Regions from separate parts of the Homo sapiens genome. Here regions 1, 2, 3 and 5 are each linked to region 4. The links are contacts of gene promoters, found by promoter capture Hi-C in human tissues and cell types (Jung and others, 2019). All regions are on one chromosome and are shown on one strand. Each heading gives the region's core, a stretch centred on a gene start or on the middle of the fragment in contact. The rest is flanking DNA. Distances are from core to core; before and after follow the strand shown.

Region 1 (3,821 bases), core at 138-2,637, 290 kb after region 4:
GCCACTGCATTTTAGCCTGGGTGACAGAGTGAGACCGTGTCTCAAAAAATAAAATAGAATATAAATAAATAAATTTGGTAATAACCTGTGCATATTTGCTATTTGAGACCTTTTAACGTTTAAGATAATTTGACCTTTTTGTAATGGATTGGCCTCTGACTGATTAAATGGTACATTCCTTCAATTTTCAAGTTGATAACTAATTTTATAAATAGTATTTGAACATTTAATGGTGCCTACAACTCACTATACTTCTAAATTTATTTGAGTTACAAAAGATATTTAGGTAATTGGGAAGATTTTGCTGTTAATAATTAGATAATTAGACAAAGTTCTTTTTTTTTTTTTTTTTTTTTTTTGAGACGGAGTCTCACTCTGTCGCCCAGGCTGGAATGCAGTGGCGTGATCTTGGCTCACTGCAACCTCTGCCTCCTGGATTCAAGCAATTCTCTGCATCAGCCTCCTGAGTAGCTGGGATTACAGGCACCCGCCACCATGCCCGGCTAATTTTTGTATTTTTAGTAGAGACAGGGTGATCCTGTCTTTAGTAGAGACCTTGTGATCCACCCGCCTCAGCCTCCCAAAGTGTTGGGATTACAGGTGTGAGCCAGTGCACCTGGCCAACAAATAAAGTTCTTAAAGAAAATACAATACACTAAATGTATAAACATAATTAAAATGTTTAAGAGAATTTAATCTTGTTATAAAAGCACCCTTAAAATGTGCTAGATTTATAAAGGGACTTAAAGCTTAAGGAAAAATGTATAATATTTTAATTAATTAAATATTAATTTTTAAAAACCTAGCTCCTGGCTGGGCGCAGTGGCTCACATCTGTAATCCCAGTACTTTGGGAGGCCGAGGCAAGTGGATCATCTGAGGTCAGGAGTTCGAGGCCAGCCTGGCCAACATGGTGAAACTCTGTCTCTACTAAAAATACAAAAATTAGCCCGGTGTGGTGGCACACACCTGTAGTCCCAGCTACTCAGGAGGCTGAGGCAGGAGAATTGCTTGAACCCAGGAGGCGGAGGTTGCAGTGAGCCGAGATCATGCCACTGCACTCCAGCCTGGGCGACACAGCAAGACTCTGTCTCAAAAGCAAACAAACAACAAAAAAAAACCTAGCTCCTGAATGATCTTTTCTGTTCTCAAGAGCAAACATCAAGGGCACCAGAAAACTCACAATAACAGTAATTATTTCTTTAGCCCAGTGGTTCTTAGACCACCATGTGGTAGAGTAACTAAAGAAAATCAGATTGTCATTTGAATCAAGTGTTTTGTTGATCAACCTCATTTTGACCAATTTGCCTAGGGGTAGGATTTCTCCAAGCCTCTTCCTTAACTTTACTTGAAAAAAGGGTATGTGATTTTAAAAGTCTGGGACAATGCTGGGTTAAACAGGTATTTTCTTTTTCTTTTTTTCTTTTGAGACTGAGTCTCACTCTATTGCCCAGGCTGGAGTGCAGTGGCACGATCTCGGCTCACCACAACCTCCATCTCCCAGGTTCAAGCGATTCTCCTGCCTCAGCCTCCCGAGTAGCTGTGACCACAGGCACATGCCACCATGCCCGGCTAATTTTTTGTATTTTTAGTAGAGACGGGGTTTCTCCATGTTGGTTAGGCTGGTCTCGAACTCCTGATCTCAAGTGATCCACCCGCCTCGGCCTCCCAAAACGCTGGGATTAAAGGTGTGAGCCACCGTGCCCAGCCATTTTTTTGGTAATTTTTAGTAGAGACAGGGTTTCACCATGTTGGCCAGGCTGGTCTAGAACTCCTGACCTAAGGTGATCCACCCATCTTGGCCTCCCGAAGTGCTGTGATTACAGGTGTGGGCCACCGTGCCCTGCCAAAACAGGTGTTTTGTGTCACTGCAGGATTTCACAGGCTAGTGTGCGCTGTGACTCTTCAAGAAGAATATATAGTATATGGTACTTCTCAAACTTATTCACTATTTGTTTATTCATTCATTTAGTCATTCAACAAATATTTATTGCACACCTAGTTTATGCCAGGGATTGTTTTGTGCACTTGGGATAAACTAGAGAACAAAAGAGACAGAATTTTTTTCTCTCACGAAGTTTACAATCTAGTGAGAGATTAGATAATAAACACAAATAGGCCAGGCGCCGGTAGCTCACACCTGTAATCCCAGCACTTTGGGAGGCTGAAGCGGTGGATCATGGGATCAGGAGTTCAAGACCAGCCTGGCCAAGATGCTGAAACCCTGTCTCTACTAAAAGTACAAAAATTAGCCGGGCGTGGTGGCGGGCACCTGTAATCCCAGCTACTCGGGAGGCTGAGGCAGGTGAATCGCTTGAACCTGGGCAGCAGAGGTTGCAGTGAGCTGAGATCATGCCACTGCACTCCAGCCTGGGTGACAGAGCAAGACTCCGTCTGAAAAAAAAAATAAATAAATAAAATAAAAAATAAACACAAATAAGTAAAATATGTAGTACATCAGATGTTATTAAATGGTATGGATAAAAATAAGGCCAGGAAAGGGGACAAGGAAGACAGAGTATGAAAGTTAGGAGGTTATACTGTCAAATAAAGTGATCAGAGAAGTTCTCATTGAGACATGGACATTTTTGCCAAGACCTGAAAGAGATGACAGCAAGCCATGTAGATCTAAGAGGAAAGAATATGATAGGCAGAGGCAGCACAAAGTGCAAAGGCCCTGATGCAGGAGTGTATCTGACATATTCTGGGAATAGCAAAGAGGTCACTATGGCTGGTACATAGAAAACTAGAAAAGTGAAATATTAGAGATGGGAGAGGACTTTGGCTTCTTTTCTGAGTGAGAGGGGGAATCATCAGGGTGTTATGAGCCACTGCATTCCAGCCTAACCTATGTTTTAAAGTGACCATTCTGGCTCTTTAGTGAATTAAAAAAAAAAACAAAACAGTAGGGGCAAGGTCTCAAGGAGGGAGGTTAATTAGAGGTTATTATAATAATCCAGGGGAGATATTAATAGGTGGTAGTTTAGTCCAGTGAGGTAACAGTAGAGGTGGTAAGAAATAGTTGAATTATATTCTCACTCTCTATGTACACACACACATATACACATAAAAATAACATATATTATATATTAATCTTTTATTATAGAAAATATCAAGCATAAACAAATGTAGAAAAAAAATAATGAACCATCGTGTCTATCACTCAGCTTCAACAATCGTCAACTATGAACTCAGGGTAAATCTTTTTTCATATAGACCACTAACCATTTACCTCCCTTCCCATATTATTTTAAGCATATACTAAGCAACATATCATTTCATTATAAATATTTCAGTATGTATCCCTAAAAGATGAAGATGAAGACTCTCATCTTTAACAACCATATTCCCACTATCACACTTAAATTTAGTAATTCCTTAATTTTTTTTTTTCAGACAAGGTTTCTCTCTGCGTCACCCAGGCTAGAGTGCAGTGGCATGATCGCGGCTCACTAGAGCCTCAACCTCAACCTCCTGGGCTCTAGCAATCCTTCTATCTCACTCAGACTGCTGAGTAGCTAGAACTACAGGTGTGCACCATCACACCCAGCTAATTAATTTTTTTTTTTTTTTGTAGAGACAAGGTCTCAGTTTGCCGTTAGGATGATCTCAAGAGATCCCCTCCCCACCTCCAGCCTTGGCCTCCCAAGGTGCTGGGATTACAGGTGTCACCCACTGCACCCGGCCAGGTGATATGTCTTTTAAATCTCTTTAATCTATAGGTCTTCTCCCTGACTCCATCTCTTTTTTCCTCCTTGTAATTTATTTGTTGAGGAAACTGGGAGGTTTGTTCTGACTAAATATATTTTGAAATTAGAACAG
Region 2 (3,685 bases), core at 1,068-3,567, 330 kb after region 4:
GGATAAATGGCAACAGGGCCAGGAATATGCTGATGGGTCTAAGGGAGGAATGTGTCTGAGGAGGGTGTTAGATGAAACATACATGTGGACAACAAAATTCCTGGTCAGTACATACTCTGGGGTCAACGAGTGTCTGGGAAGCACTATTTAGTTTCAATATATGTTAGAATACCAAGTTAGCACATTCATTCTGGTAGGTGGAAAACAGATTTTGCACACAAGGAAATTTGACACACCCTGGGGTCTCATGGCCAGTTCACGAGGCTGGCTCTAGATTTGGAACTAAGATGAGCACGATTCTGACCCTGAGGCTCGCACCACTGGCCACCTCTGGCGAGTACACATGGTGTGCCAGGCGCTGTGCTAAGGCCTGGGTGCCATTCCCTGACCTTTGCTTCTGGGAAGAGGACGCGGGGGCCTGGAGCAGTGCGCACCCTGCCCACAGTGACAAGGATATGGGGTGCTCGTGGTCTTTTCCCTTCTGACTATCAACACATTCTTGCCGTGCTGCTGCAGACTGGCATAGTTCTGGAGAAAGTACACAATCAGAGGGCTCTTCCCATAAATGTTGAAGAGGTTTGAAGTCAGCTCAGGGCTTTTGCAGGCAGCACACGACTAAGGATGAAAGAAAAAGGAAAAATAAAGGATATTGTCATTTTTACAGTCTGTATTAAGAACCAGAAAGGCATCAAAGCACTCATGTCCTTTGATCCAGTAATTCCAGTTTTAGGATGCACCCTAAGAAAATTACTCAAAATAAAGCAAAAAAAGGTCAAGGGGCAAAGATGTCCACTGCAGAGATGTTTACTATACATAGCAAAATATGAGAATAACTTAAATGTTCAAGAAGACATTGATCTCTTTACCCAAAGGAATGGTATGTCACTATTAAAATGTTTATGAAGAGTTGATAACCTAAAAAAGGTTTCAGGTATAATAGTAAATTTTTAAATACTGAGATGCAAAGTTTGATAGTGTTTTTTATATGTGTGTGTGTATGTGTATGTATGTATATATATATATATATAATTTTATTTTATTTTTGAGACTTGGGTCTCAATCTATCGCCCAGGCTGGAGTGCAGTGGCACAATCTCAGCTCACTGCAACCTCCATCTCCTAGATTCAAGCAATTCTCCTATCTCAGCCTCCCGAGTAGCTGGGATTACAGGGGCCCACCAGCCACCATGCCCAGCTAATTTTTGTATTTTTAGTAGAGACAGGGTTTCACCACGTTGGCCAGGCTGGTCTCAAACTCCTGACCTCAGGTAATCTGCCCGCCTTGGCCTCCCAAAGTGCTTGGATTATAGGCATGAGCCATCATGCCCAGCCGATAGTGTTATATATTTTATAGAAAATAATTTAGTAAAAGCCAGGTGCGGTAGCTCACACCTGTAATCCCAGCACTTTGGGAGGCCGAAGCAGATCGCAAGATCAAGAGATTGAGACCATCCTAGCCAACATGGTAAAACCCTGTCTCTACTAAAAATACAAAAATTAGCTGGGCTTGGTGGCATGCGCCTGTAGTCCCAGCTACTCAGGAGGCTGAGGCAGGAGAATCACTTGAATCTGGGAGGCGGAGGTTGCAGTGAGCCGAGATTGCACCATTGCGCTCCAGCCTGGCGACAGAGTGAGACTCCGTCTCAAAAAAAAAAAAAAAGAAAATTATTTAGTAAAAAACAGATAGATGAGAGACTGGAAGGCTCTTACCAAAACGTTAATAATTCATTCAGCAAATATGTATTGAGTGATTACTATGTATAAATACTATTTTAGGTGCTGGAGATTCAGCAGAGAACAAGACAAATTCCAGCCCTTATGGAGTTTACATTACAGTTGGAAGAAAACAATGAAAAAAATCAACAAATAAAGGAATAACATGATATGATGAATACTAATAAGATCAATCAGGCCAGGGTATGGAGAGTGGTAGGGAGGAGAGGACTGGGGTTCCATGGCGTGATCAGGGAAGGCTGTGAGGAGGTGAGACCCCAGGGATCCTGAATGCTGTGGGGAAGGGAGCCATGGGAAGGTCTATCAGGAGTTGTTCCTGGCTAAGAGGACAGCAGGTGCAACAGATCCAGCCACTGATATGTGCTTGGTGTGGCTGAGGGGCAGAAATGAGGTGGCTCACAGGGGTGGGGGCGGGTGCAGAGGGAGCAGGTGCTGTGGTCATGGTGAGGAGCTGGGATATTTTTCTAAGGGTCATGGAAGCCACTGGCAGATTCTGAGCTGGGGTACAATATAATCTGAGTAATCTGTTAAGGTCTCTTTGACTGATGGGAGGAGAAATGACTGTGAGGGTAAGAATGGGTGCAGAAGAGCAGTCAGGAGGCCCCTGCAGGAGTTGGGGAATTGCTGATGGGGCCCAGGACTTGGTGATTGCAGACAAGGGGTGAGAAGTGAGCAAATTTACAACATATGATAAAGGAGAACTGGCAAGATTTGCTGATGGACTCAACTCTACGTAGGTGTGAGAAAGAGAAGAGTCTAGGGCGGCTCAGAGGACTTGGGTGTCAGCTGCTCAGGTGGGACAATCTGGGGAGGAACAGGCTGGGGCGGTGGGAAAGTCAAGTCCCGTTTTGGATGCTATTTGAGATGCTAATAGACAGCCAGGAGGAAACAGATCAGAAAGAGAACAGGCTGGGGCCAAGAATGGTTTGTTTTCTTCTGCCTTTTTCCAAAAATGACAATACTGCTTTTGTGTTTAAAAAAAAATACATTTTATTTTGAAGAAGCAGTTATACCTTAATGGAACAAAAATTCCACTTCACAAATAAAGGCTGCAGCAGTACCCAATCACACTATTTTCTAATCCTGTTCTAATGGGATAGGGTTGCATTTAATTAATTGTCTAATGGGATTTCTTCTGTCTCCAGCAAGGTTTCTCAACTTCAGCACTACTGACATTTGGGGCTGGATATTTCTTTGTTGTGGGAGGCTCTCCTGTGCACTGTAGGATGCTGAGGAGCATCCCTGGCCTCCCCCAATGTCCCCCTGCCCCCAGTTCTAACAACTAGAAATGTCTTCAGAGCTGGCCAAATGTCTCCCAGAGGACAAAATTGCCCCAGTTGAGAACCACTATTCTAACAGCAAGATACCACTGGAATCACAGAAACCTGGAGTTAGCAGGGAATTTATAGATCATTTGGTCCAGTGATTCTGACATGCTGTCTCCTAATGGAGGCCATGCTGTGTCCAGTGGTCACCAGGGAAATGAGTGAAACAAGGAAAAATCTACACGACTCTAAGTAAATTGATTCACTTCAAAGACCTTTTTAAATTTTTTCATTTGTGATATTAATGACTTTCTTTTATAAAATGCTACTGACGACAGACAGCAGTCATTTTGTTTTAATGAATTTACTTAGTAAAAAAATAAATTTTTTTTCAAAGCCTACGAAAGTCCAGCATCTGGGATCCACTAATGCAGTGCAAGGTTTCTCTGAGGGTGATTCTTTGGCAACCCAGCGTCCTTCCCCTTTCCTAACAGCCCCTGACTCTGGTGTGTTTTTGAGGGGGAGATCTGGCCTCTACTGCATTTGGGCTTGAAGTTTTGCTTTTTGTTGTTGTTGTTGTTGTTTTTGAGATGGAGTCTCACTCTGTCGCCCAGGCTGGAGTGCAGTGACGCAATCTCTGCTCACTGCAACCTCCGCCTCCTGGGTTCAAGCAATTCTCCTGCCTCA
Region 3 (3,722 bases), core at 277-2,776, 380 kb after region 4:
TGAACCCAGGAGGCGGAGCTTGCAGTGAGCTGAGATTGTACCACTGCACACTCCAGCCTAGGCGACAGTGCGAGACTCCATCTAAAATAAATAAATAAATAAATAAATAAATACCAAAAAAAAAATTAGCCTGGCATGGTGGCGGGCGCCTGTAGTCCCAGCTACTTGGGAGGCGGAGGCAGGAGAATGGCGTGAACCCAGGAGTCGGAGGTTGCAGTGAGCCAAGATCATGCCACTGCACTCCAGCCTGGGCGACAGAGCGAGACTCTGTCTCGAAAAAAAAAAAAAGTAAAATTTTTTTAAAGTAAAGCAATAAAAGAATGGCTACTCCATAGATAGAACAGCCAAGAGTAAAATTTTAATTTTAATTAATTCAAATTTTGGCCAGGCGCAGTGGCCCGCACCTGTAATACCAGCACTTTGGGAGGCCGAGTCAAGCAGATCACCTGAGGTCAGGAGTTCGAGACCAGCCTGGCCAACATGGTGAAACGCCATCTCTACTAAAAATACAAAAAATTAGCCGGGCATGGTGGTGGGTGCCTGTAATTCCAGCTACTTGGGAGGTGAACACAGCAGAATCGCTTGAACCCGGGAGGCCGAGATCATGCCACTGCAATCCCAGCCTGGGCAACAGAGTGAGACTCTGTCTTAAAAAAAAAAAAAATTAAATTTTTAAATGGAAGCAGTGCAAATTTAGAAATACTGATTATATCTTGAAATAGTAATGTTTTGGACATATGGAGTTTAAAACATTACTCAAATTAATTTCACTTGGCTTTCTTTTTTACTTTTTAAAAAATGTGGCTACTAGAAAATTCCAAATCACATATGTGGCCTGCTTTATGTTTCTATTGCACAATGCTAAGCCAGATTGTGAAGATTTTAGTTCTAGGACATGGAAGTCTCCCCTCTTTTAATGCAGGGTGGTGTAGTTGGAAGAGAACTGCGCTTGGAGTCAAAGACCCCTGGGTCCTGCCCCTCACTGGATGCCCTGATACACCCACTAGGCAGCCGGTAAACTCCTTGAACGGCCTAAGTTTCTGCACTTATCAGACGGAACCAATAACACACGCTTTTAGGACTCTAGGAGATCTGGAGTTGATTCTCCAGTAGTTCTCTGTCCCTTCCTCACAATGCAACCTTTAAGTAGTCCCTGGGCCTCAGCTTCCCTTGCTTGTAGAAGCCGCCATAACGGCACGGGGAGGGGGCAGGCTGCCAGAGGTGGGTCATGGTGCGTCTGTCCGTCCGTCTTACCTGAAAGCATCGGCGGAATTTGACGAACCCGGGGCCGGTCCCGCCACGGGTCCCTCAGGGGACCCCGCAAAGTTCTGGGTCGGCCCCCGACAGCCGGTGCCCCCAAACTCACAGCAAGGGGTGCCCTTTGCCTTGTGCTGGGGGATGAGGAGGGGAGTTGGGGAGAGGCCCATTTTGCTACTCTGAGTCCAGGCGTTCTCTAGGCAACGCCGGCGCGGTCTCCACTTTCCCGTTTAGCATAACAATGGAACCTTCGTGAGCCGCCGCGTTGTCCGCGAGATGCCGTTTCTATGGTGACAGCCGGGCCGGGGGCCCAGACCAATGTGTCAGTGGAGAGGGTGAATGCAGGTCCTGGTCCTAGAGGCATGAAAAGGACCCCAGAAGACACTGCCTTTGTATAATCCGTTTGCTATCCCGAGGTGATTCACGGAGTTTCTGGGGATTGGCGCAGGCTGGCGCTGGGAACCCCCGCGCCGGTTACCCCTTTCCTCGGTGGTAGAGGCCGGGCGGGGCAGCGCATGCGCGTGGCGGGCAGGCGGCAGGAGGCGGGTGGGTCAAGGTAACTCTGGGCTACAGAGTCCTTGCTGGGGGTTCGGGGAGCGCTTGGACCCCGGCTTCTGGGACGCGTCAGGTACGTCTCCGAGTCCGGCGTCGCCGGCCAGCGCTGCCTGGGTTCACTCGGGGGCCCGAGCTGAGTAGGACGTCCGGGCCTCGCCTGGAGAGAGGCTTCAGGAGGGCCTGGGGAAGGGGACGGAGGCCGGGCGACCCCGGGCGGTGGCCGCCCTCCTCTGTGTGTCTCCGCGGTTGTGAATTGGGGCGGTAATTCCTCCCCGTAGGTCGCCGTGAAGATGATTGCATGAGATCGTGCGTGTGAACGTTTGTTGACAGCTGTTACTTGAGTCCGACAGCCCTGGGGGCCGTGCATCTGCGTAACATGGCTACCTCTGAACTCCTTGGGGGACACGTATATCTTTGAGAATCCGATGAAAACCAGAGATTCCGCCCTTGTTTTCTTAGAATTAAAGTAAGATAATATATTTTATGGCCTGTTGCAAACGGAAAACCTTTACACAATGATTAGTGATTAGTATCAGTATCTGTGGACTGGGAAGGCTCTACTTACTCGATCCTCTTCCCAGGGTCGTTGTGAGGATCAAGTGCACAGCTTCCTATAAACACTAAAACACTATAACATCTTGTGAGCCAGGTACTATTATTATTCCTCAGTGCAAAGAAAGAAGCCGAAGTCCAAGGGGGATAAATGCTGGGGTCCCACTGTGGGTGAGCCGCAGAGTGATCATTGGAAGCCAGGTGCTCCCCCTTCACTTCCTGTGTGCGGAGCACGCTCGCCCTGGGAGTTTCACTAGAAAGAAGGTTGCCATGGGCCAGTGGGACAGCTTGTATCTCAAGTGCACGCGGATGCCCCAGAATCCCAGGATCTCAGCTGAGCTGTTTGTGGATTATTAGATCTGACTTAAAAGGTAGCTAATCCAGACCCTTCCTCATCTGTAATACATGGATGACAGCTCCCAGCTGTAGTGTTATGAGAATTAGTGCGGTCATGAGTAAGGTGCCCAGTTAAAGCCCGAGAAGTAAAGCAGCTGGGCCAAGGTCTAGCAGGCAACTGAAGGGGAGAGCCAGGCCCCTAAACTTGTTGTGTCCAGCCCATGTGCTCAGGCCCAGTGCAGTTAGCATCAGTGGGGACTTGACTTATTTCTCCTTCTTCAAATGTCTCTAGATTTTAGGCATGCTGGGGGCTGCTTCTTAACTGTGTTTTGTTTATTTTGTTCATAAGTAATACATGAATATATTCTCATTGTAATAATTCATTAAATCTCGAGTATATTTAATATAATTTTATATTGTACCATATGAAATTGTCACAATTTGACCTTTTTTTAACCTATAAAATGACAAGTTCATTCAAGTCAGTCATCCTATTCCCTTTTTCAGGTTTAACCACTATGAACAGTTTGGTGTATCCTTCCAGATCTCTTTCTTTCTTTTCTATTTTTTTTTTCTTTGAGATGGGGTCTTGTTCTGTCACCCAGGCTAGAAAGCAGTGGTGCAATTTCAGCTCACTGCAACCTCTGCCTCCTGGGTTCAAGCAATTATCCTGCCTCAGCCTCCTGAGTATCTGGGACAACTGGCGCACACCACCACACCCGACTAATTTTTGTATTTTTAGTAGAAACAGGGTTTCACCATGTTGGCCAGGATAGTCTCGATCTCTTGACCTCGTGATCTGCCCAACTCGGCCTCCCAAAGTGCTGGGATTACAGGCATAAGCCACCGTACCTGGCCTCTTTCTTTTTTTTAATACACACATATATTACTTTATTTTATTTTATTTTTTTTTGAGATGGAGTCTGACTCTGTTGCCCAGGCTGGAGTGCAGTGGTGCGATCTCGGCTCACTGCAAGCTCTGCCTCCTGGGTTCACACCATTGTCCTGCCTCAGCCTTCTGA
Region 4 (3,909 bases), core at 29-2,528:
GGCACACATACCTGGCTGCTGGGGCTCTCCCACCCCAGCGTCCCAGGTCCCAACTCTGATACGCACAGCACCCTAGGCAAGGTTCAGAGGTGCAGAGCCTAGGGGTTCTACCAAGGAAGCTAAATAGGTAGATGGAAAGGGACACTGTAGGCATAACCTGTCAACGAAGTCACACCTCTGAGACCTGCGCTGCCTCTGCAGGTGCAGGTGAGCTTGTTTGCCTGGCTGACTCTGCAGCGCAGGGCCTCCAGGGCACAGATTGCTGCTTCTTTCCTTACAAAAGCACCAGCAGTCAGATAAATAATACATGGCCTTCACCTCACCACAGGTATCAGGCATGCAAATACCTGCTTTGCCCCAAAATGCCCTGGAAAGGAGGGAGGAGTAAAACGTCTGGCCTTATACAACACCTCCAGAGGGGATATGTATTGGGAATCCATGCCCAACCCCCAGCATAACTGCCTTGCCTTGGCCTGGAGCCACCCAGCACTGGAGGTAAGTGGATCCAAGCGAGGTACCAAGGGTGTGCCCAGGAGGAAATGTACAATTCACGGGAAGGATACAGACACCCAAAACCAGTCTCCACGGTCCCTTTGGGGGCAAACATCTTTCGAGCCCCAGGTCCCAGTCGATCCCCTTCCAAACCTGCGGACCTGTGTGGCGGGCGTGTACACCCTCCACTCACGACGCAGCCCCGAAAGCCCCCCGCCGACCACCCTCCCAGGTCACTGCCACCCGCACAGGGCACGGACGCCTCCCCCACTCACTCGGCCGTGCCAGTCGCCAGCACACCCACCCGGGAGCACACAATCCCTCTTGCAAAGCGCCTTGGTCCATCCGCCTCCCTCTCCCGGGGCCGCCCCCCGGACAGGTCCGATTACACTCCAGGAGCTGCCCCCGCCACGTTGGCGTGGAAAGGGAGCGGGCACACCCACGGGCGACCTCGCGGGGCGGAGAGGAGGCACGGGTGGGGAGACGGATGCCCCCTCCCTCCGCGGCCGCACCGGCCTCCGTAGTGCCCTCCCCGCCCGGGAGCCGGCGGCCGAAGCCGGGCGTCCCTCGCGCGGGCCTCTCCGAAACAAGCAGCCCCCCGCGCTCGGGAGTCGCAGCTCCCCCTTGGGGCTCCCGGGCGAGGCCGGCCAGGCGGGATACCTCAGGAGCCCATGGCGGTGGCGGCGTCTGCGGACGATGCGCGGCAGCCGGACTCTGCGGGCGGGGCGGGCGGCGCCGCAGCCCCGGAGTCTCCGCCGCCGCCGGCGCGTCCCGGGCCCAGTGGAGTGCAGCCGCGGCGCGCATGCGCTCTGGGCTCGCCGCCGGGGAGGGCGGGGCGGCGGACGCGGCTGAGATCACTGCCTGGGCCTTAAAGGGGCCGCGCCCCGAACCCCAGCCCGCCGCCCCGAACCCCAGCCCGCCGCCCCGCGGGTTGGGGCGCGACCCGGGTTCTCTTGCCACTCACAAAACCAGCTACGACCGGCCCCCAACCGCGAGAGCTTTCTGGGCTGCGATCTCTGCCCCTGACCCTCGCTGGTGCTTCACTTCTTTTAACCCTAATTTCCTCCATTTGAGCCTGTTTTGAAGATGAAACGAAATACAATGGCTATTTGTTGAGTGAAGGATGCGTGTGGAATTGTGGAATGAACGTGGACCGAGTGTTGTGTGCAATTAGGCCAGATGAAATGGCAAAGCACTGAAAGAGGCCTTTTTTTCCCACTCCGCTTAGCAGCGATTCTTTCTTGCCCCGTCTGGCTCTAGGCTGCCGAACTAGCAAAAGTCTTCAGATAGGGTTCAAGCCGCCTAGTCCATTTCTGTTTGCCGGTCCAGACATCACCTAGGTTAACTGAACAAGATAAAATGCAATTAAGTTCTGGCATTGATGTGCTCAAGATCCCCAAATGTATTTATGTCTCCAGACTCCTCGCCTGAACTGTCTACCCAACACCTCTTCCTTGGAGCTCCAGCAGGCATCTCAAAGTCAGCGTGTCTGAGCTGAGCCAACCCCACTTCCACACACAAAAACCTGCTCCCTCTCAGCTTTGCCTCCATCAGCTGTTGACAATTCCATCCTTCCAGTCCCCAGGCCAGAACTCGGAGTCAGCTGTGAATGAATGCCCCCCTTCTGCCCGCTACCCAATAAGGCAGGCAGGAGATCCTGTTGGCTCTACCTGCAAAATAGATCTAGACTCAGATGTCTGCCACTCCTCCTCCAGTGCTACCACCCTGGTCCAGTATTTGCACAGGATTATTGCAGAGTTCTGCTAACCCCTCTCCCTTGTTCCAGCCTTGCCCTCTGATCCATTCTATCAATTCAGGGGTGAGGGAGATCCTTTTTTTTTTTTCTCTTTTTTCTTTTTGAGACAAAGTCTCGCTCTTTGTCTCAAAGTTGCCCAGGCTGGAGTGCAGTGGCGCGATCTCGGCTCACTGCAAGCTCCGCCTCCCGGGTTCACGCCATTCTCCTGCCTCAGCCTCCCGAGTAGCTGGGACTACAGGCGCCCGCCACCATGCCCAGCTAATTTTTTGTATTTTTAGTAGAGACGGGGTTTCACCGCGTTAGCCAGGATGGTCTTGATCTCCTGACCTTGTGATCCGCCTGCCTCGGCCTCCCAAAGTGCTGGGATTACAGGCGTGAGCCACCACGCCCAGCCAAGATTCTTTTAAAATCTGCCGGGCACGGTGGCTCACGCCTGTAATCCCAGCACTTTGTGAGGTCGGGTGGCTCATTTAAGGCCAGGAGTTACAGACCAGCCTGGCCAATATGGTGAAACCTTGTCTCTGCTAAAAATACAAAAATTAGCTGGGTGTGGTGGTACATGCCTGTAGTCCCAGCTACTCTGGAGGCATGAGAATTGCTTGAACCCGGGAGGCGGAGGTTGGGTTGTGGTGAGCCAAGATCGTGCCAATGCACACCAACCTGGGTGACAAAATGAGAATCTGTCTCAAAAAATAAAATAAAATCGAAGTCAAAACATGGTACTTTTTTGCTCAAAACCCTCCATTGGCTCACTGTTTCGCTCTAAGTAAAAGCCTTACAAGTCCTTACAAACACTTGATCTGACATTCTACTCTCCTGGGGATTCCTGATCTCATTCATCTCTTACCCTTTCCCTCCACACTGATCCCTTGCTGTTCCTAGAACAAGCTGAGCACACTCAGCCCCGAGCCCCCTGCACTAGCTGTTCCCTCTGCTGCGATCGCTGTTTCCCCAGATACCTGAATGGCTCCTCCATCACCTTCTTCAAGGGTTTGCTCGAATGTCCTCCACTTAGTGAGGCCTGCTGTGAGCACCCCTAGTAAAACTACCAGACCCCTCACATGCACTCTGTATTTCCCTTTACCGTGCCCTACTTTCCCTGTCACTTCATTTCTTTCTTTCTTTCTTTTTTTTTTTGAAGCGGAGTCTCGCTCTGTCACCCAGGCTGGAGTGCAATGGTGCTATCTCGGCTCACTGCAAGCTCCGCCTCCCGGGTTCATGCCATTCTCCTGCCTCAGCCTCAGAGTAGCTGGGACTACAGGCGCCCACCACCATGCCTGGCTAATTTTTTGTATTTTTAGTAGAGACGGGGTTTCACCGCGTTAGCCAGGATGGTCTCGATCTCCTGACTTCGTGATCCGCCTGCCTCAGCCTCCCAAAGTGCTGGGATTACAGGCGTGAGCCACCCTGTCACTTCATTTCTATCATATTATATAGTTTGCCTGTTTCCCTGTGTGTCTTCTTCTAGTAGAACACAAAATTTTTCGGTTTTGTTTTTTTGTTTTTGAGACAGTCTCTGTCACCCAGGCTGGAGTGCAGTGGCACAATCTCAGGTCACTGCAACATCCGCCACTCAGGCTCAAGTGATCCTCCCACCTCAGCCTCCTGGTTAGCTGGGATTATAGGCATGTGCCACCATACCAGGCTAATTTTTGTATTTT
Region 5 (3,711 bases), core at 472-2,971, 420 kb after region 4:
TACCGCTGCTAGGGTTTTGGACATGGTTTCCTGAGAGACCTTTATGCTCTGGGTCCTTCAAACCAGTCACATGGGGTTTGTGGGCACTATCTGCAGACCCACTGTTTTCAGACCCAGACAGGATGGAAAGTGGAGGCAGCATCTCTAGGTGAGTCTGGAGCAGCAGTGACAACTCAGCAGAACCTGTGTCAAGTCCTCATAGAAAAGGGAAAATAAGCTAGGATTCCCTCCCCGCTCCACTTTCTCCTCTGTCTCTTAAATAAAACAAGGGTTTGTGACCACTGGCCTTAAGTGCACAGAACTCCTACCTTCCTTGCCCAGGAACAAAACACTGAGTAGTTCTTATAACAGTCCACACGTCTGTCCTATTGCACTGTCAGATCTGAAGGGGAAAAACTTGATGAGATGTTTGGGGAAGTGGCAAGGGCAGACCCACTGTAGAGGCCACAGCACGTCACAGAGGACTGAAGGGGCTGAGGCGAGAGGGAGGTTGGGCAGAACTGTTACACATCGGTCCTCCAACTCTGATGAGCCTCTACCTCTTCTGGTACCACCAGCAGGAGTTCACAGTTCTTTCCTCGCAAATGATGTTTTAGAAACTTCCTATGGAAAAAGAGATAGAGAAAATGAAATGCTGGCAAGTTGCAAATTCCAGTCTCAGGACCACAAAGTCACCTGAAACCTCACTCTACCCTCGGCAGTCCAAAACACATCCCTGTAGTCATCTGGTTTTGGAGGGTTCCACATTTGGTTACCCTCCAATCTGTCCAGTTAAAATTCCAACCTGAATTTTGCTCATCCTTGTAGTTACTGCCAAGAGTAGCTGGATCTGTGAATAACAGTACCCAAAGTATATAAAGGACTTTTTCTTGGTTTGTTTGGAGACGGAGTTTCGCTCTTGTCGCCTGGGCTGGAGTGCAATGGCATGATCTCGGCTCACTGCAACCTCTGCCTCCCAGGTTCAAGTGATTCTCCTGCCTCAGCCTCCTGACCAGCTGGGATTACAGGCGTCCGCCACCACGCCTGGCTAATTTTTGTATTTTTAGTAGAGACAGAGTTTCACCGTGTTGGTCAGGCTGGTCTCGAACTCCTGACCTCAGGTGATCCACCCGCCTTGGCCTCCCAAAGTGCTGAGATTACAGGCGTGAGCAATCGCCTCTAAAGAACTTTTACAAATGTTCTTTGGTCCTGGGGAAATTCAGTGCTCCCTGGCCTGCATGTTTGTCTTCCTTTCTATGAACTGGCAACTACACTGTCTCAGTTGTCTTAAATAGAGAGAACGTTACAATGCCAGCCCCACCAGACTAGAAGGCTGGTATCCCAGGCTGGGCATCTTCCCTACCAAAAGGACTTAAAAGTACTGATGCGCCATTGAAGATTAAGGTCAGGTCCGAGACACTATGATTCTAAGGCAGGGAGAGAATCCAAGGGCACAGGAATTTCATTTCCTTTGTCAAATAACCAGAGATGAGCTCAGTGTCCCCAACCTAAGAAATGAAGCAGCCTAGCAACTTAGTCACAAAAGGTGCCGATTACCTGAGCTCGCTCTCGCCTCCAATCCACTCGGGCATCTTGAGTTTGGAGTCGAGGTTGTAGTAGGCCCCTCCCACCTCTCGAACACAGATCCAGTGCTGCCTTTTGAGGGGCAGTTTCAGTGGACCCCAGCATAGGCTGGAGGGCAGATTCATGATGAAGCCCATGACGTTAGTGAGGGCAATGACACCGACATCCCTGCAGGGGAGAAATGGTGGCAGGCTCTGATGCAGCCCATTTTCCAAGGTTCCCTGGCTGTAATACCACAACTGGCTACCTCCCCACTCATGCCATGAGCCCAAGTACTAAAAGCTTATACCACAACCGTGCTGTTCTCCATCAAGTCAAGCCTGATTCAGATTACCTGCGCTTGTCCCACCAAACAGCTTCATAGCCTTTGGTCTGAAGTGCTGCCATAATGACATTCACATCGTAGTTGCCATTTCCCAGCATGCTCTTCTTGTGAGGTGTCACCATGGTGTTTGGAGACAACCTACCAATGTGAAAAGAGGAGGGCTGAGACTTGCTGGATGCCTGAACCCCCTGACCCCGCACTACCAGGGATGGAGAGCACTTTACATCACTGCCCCTGGAAGTTAGTTTCCCCACATTCAAGTGCAATTTCCCCAGCTTCTACCTAAGTATTTTGTAAGTGTTCCATGAAGGTGACTCACTTATGAAATCCCAGCCTCCTGCAGCCTTTCTGCTCTTCCTCCTGATACTGATTTTCCTGCCTCATGCAAGCCTTTTTTTTTTTTAACATTGGAAAATAGGATTCAATCTTTTCATTTGCATGGATAGTAACTGGTGTCACTCCTGCTTTCTAGTTAAGGCCTGCAAACTTGGTAATCATTAATCATTAAATACTCAAAGGCATACAGGAGCCTAGACAGGTGACATAAATGTATAAACTGGGGTTGGATATAAGGCAATAAAAAGTAGTGAGGCCTACTGGAATGCACGACCCACCTAAAGGCATTCTGTGTGTGTGTGTGTGTGTGTGTGTGTGTGTGTGTAGTACTTGAATAAATTTTTCTTAAAATACCCAATAAATCAACTGAAAAAAAATTTGTGCCAGGCAAACAAAACTCAGCTGCAGCACTGGTTTGCCCACCCAGCTTGAAGCCATTTACTTCCAGGTTTCTTTAGCCAGTCTGTATTTTAAGACAAGGTCCATGCTGAAGGCATTTCTAATTCTATTATTTTACCTTCATAAACTTGTCAGGCCAGGAGCTGGGGAAAGGCCATTTTGAAGGAAGGGTTCAAGGGGCATACCTTTGGGCTTCGTGTGAAGGGGAGAAAGGGAAGTGTGGCGAGTTCCTCAGGACATAAAGTGCATGATCAAGAGGCTACTACATGCCATCTCCAGAAAAGAATCAAGACGTTAGGCCAAGGATGTCAACTCTAAAAAACTTAAGAAATCTTGTATTTTTAAAATTTTTCTGTGCACAGCAGAAATACTGGTATTTTTTTTCTTTCTTTTTTTTTTGAGTCGGAGTCTTGCTCTGTCGCCCAGGCTGGAGTGTGATGGCGCGATCTCAGCCCACTGCAACCTCCGTCTCCTGCGTTCAAGTGATTCTCTTGCCTTAGCCTCCCAAGTAGCTGGGATTACAGGCACCCGCCACCACGCCCACCTAATTTTTGTATTTTTAGTTGAGATGGGGTTTCACTACGTTGGCCAGGCTGGTTGGTCTCGAACTCCTAACCTTGTGATCCACCCGCCTCAGCCTCCCAAAGTGCTGGGATTACAGGTGTGAGCCACTGAACTCAGCAATACTGGTATTTTTCAAATATAAAACATACTCCTGGCCAGGCGCGGTGGCTCATGCTTGTAATTCCGGCACTCTGGGAGGCTGAGGTGGGCAGATCACTTGAGGTCAGGAGTTCAAGACCAGCCTGGGTAACATGGTGAAACCCCGTCTCTACTAAAAATACAAAAATTAGCCAGGCGTGGTGGTGCACGCCTGTAGTCTCAACTACTCAGGAGACTGAGGCAGCTAACTGCTTGAACGTAGGAGGCAGAGGCTGCAGTGAGCCGAACATAGGAGGCAGAGGCTGGATGTCACCACTGCATCCAGCCTGGGTGACAGAGTGAGACTCCGTCTCAAAAAACAAACCAACAAACAAAACAAAACAAAACCCCATGCTCCTGGCCGGGAGTGGTGGCTCACACCTGCA

Evidence for each region. The method cuts DNA at HindIII sites, captures the fragments that hold promoters and counts their contacts. A contact is called where the count stands out against the background at its distance.
Region 1: a fragment that was not itself captured here is called in contact with the fragment with the promoter of TMEM184B in region 4 in 4 of the 25 tissues and cell types used here (H1 embryonic stem cells, lymphoblastoid cells, psoas muscle and 1 more).
Region 2: a contact is called between a fragment that was not itself captured here and the fragment with the promoter of TMEM184B in region 4, in 1 of the 25 tissues and cell types used here (spleen).
Region 3: a contact is called between the fragment with the promoter of FAM227A here and the fragment with the promoter of TMEM184B in region 4, in 1 of the 25 tissues and cell types used here (mesenchymal stem cells).
Region 5: a contact is called between a fragment that was not itself captured here and the fragment with the promoter of TMEM184B in region 4, in 1 of the 25 tissues and cell types used here (aorta).

What each region holds. Positions count from the first base shown.
Region 1 is chr22:38,557,622-38,561,442 of GRCh38, forward strand. All of the region lies in intron 5 of DMC1 (DNA meiotic recombinase 1), which reads right to left. Among named protein-coding and RNA genes, the nearest start is that of DMC1, 11 kb to the right of the region's middle. The HindIII fragment of the contact is 5,518 bases long and covers 1-3,821 here.
Region 2 is chr22:38,599,307-38,602,991 of GRCh38, forward strand. FAM227A (family with sequence similarity 227 member A) reads right to left here. Exons shown (of 17, transcript NM_001013647.2): 14 at 458-615. Among named protein-coding and RNA genes, the nearest start is that of DMC1, 31 kb to the left of the region's middle. The HindIII fragment of the contact is 9,989 bases long and covers 1-3,685 here.
Region 3 is chr22:38,654,866-38,658,587 of GRCh38, forward strand. It overlaps FAM227A (family with sequence similarity 227 member A), which reads right to left and starts at 1,527. Exons shown (of 17, transcript NM_001013647.2): 1 at 1,255-1,527. It overlaps CBY1 (chibby 1, beta catenin antagonist), which reads left to right and starts at 1,773. Exons shown (of 5, transcript NM_015373.4): 1 at 1,773-1,885. The HindIII fragment of the contact is 5,432 bases long and covers 1-2,460 here.
Region 4 is chr22:38,271,732-38,275,640 of GRCh38, forward strand. It overlaps TMEM184B (transmembrane protein 184B), which reads right to left and starts at 1,279. Exons shown (of 9, transcript NM_012264.5): 1 at 1,153-1,279. RefSeq lists an enhancer at 30-739 and a silencer at 802-1,431. The HindIII fragment of the contact is 18,337 bases long and covers 1-3,909 here.
Region 5 is chr22:38,687,399-38,691,109 of GRCh38, forward strand. It overlaps JOSD1 (Josephin domain containing 1), which reads right to left. Exons shown (of 5, transcript NM_001360236.2): 3 at 1,898-2,026; 4 at 1,537-1,731; 5 at 1-603. The coding sequence ends at 504. Among named protein-coding and RNA genes, the nearest start is that of TOMM22, 7.3 kb to the left of the region's middle. The HindIII fragment of the contact is 8,429 bases long and covers 1-3,711 here.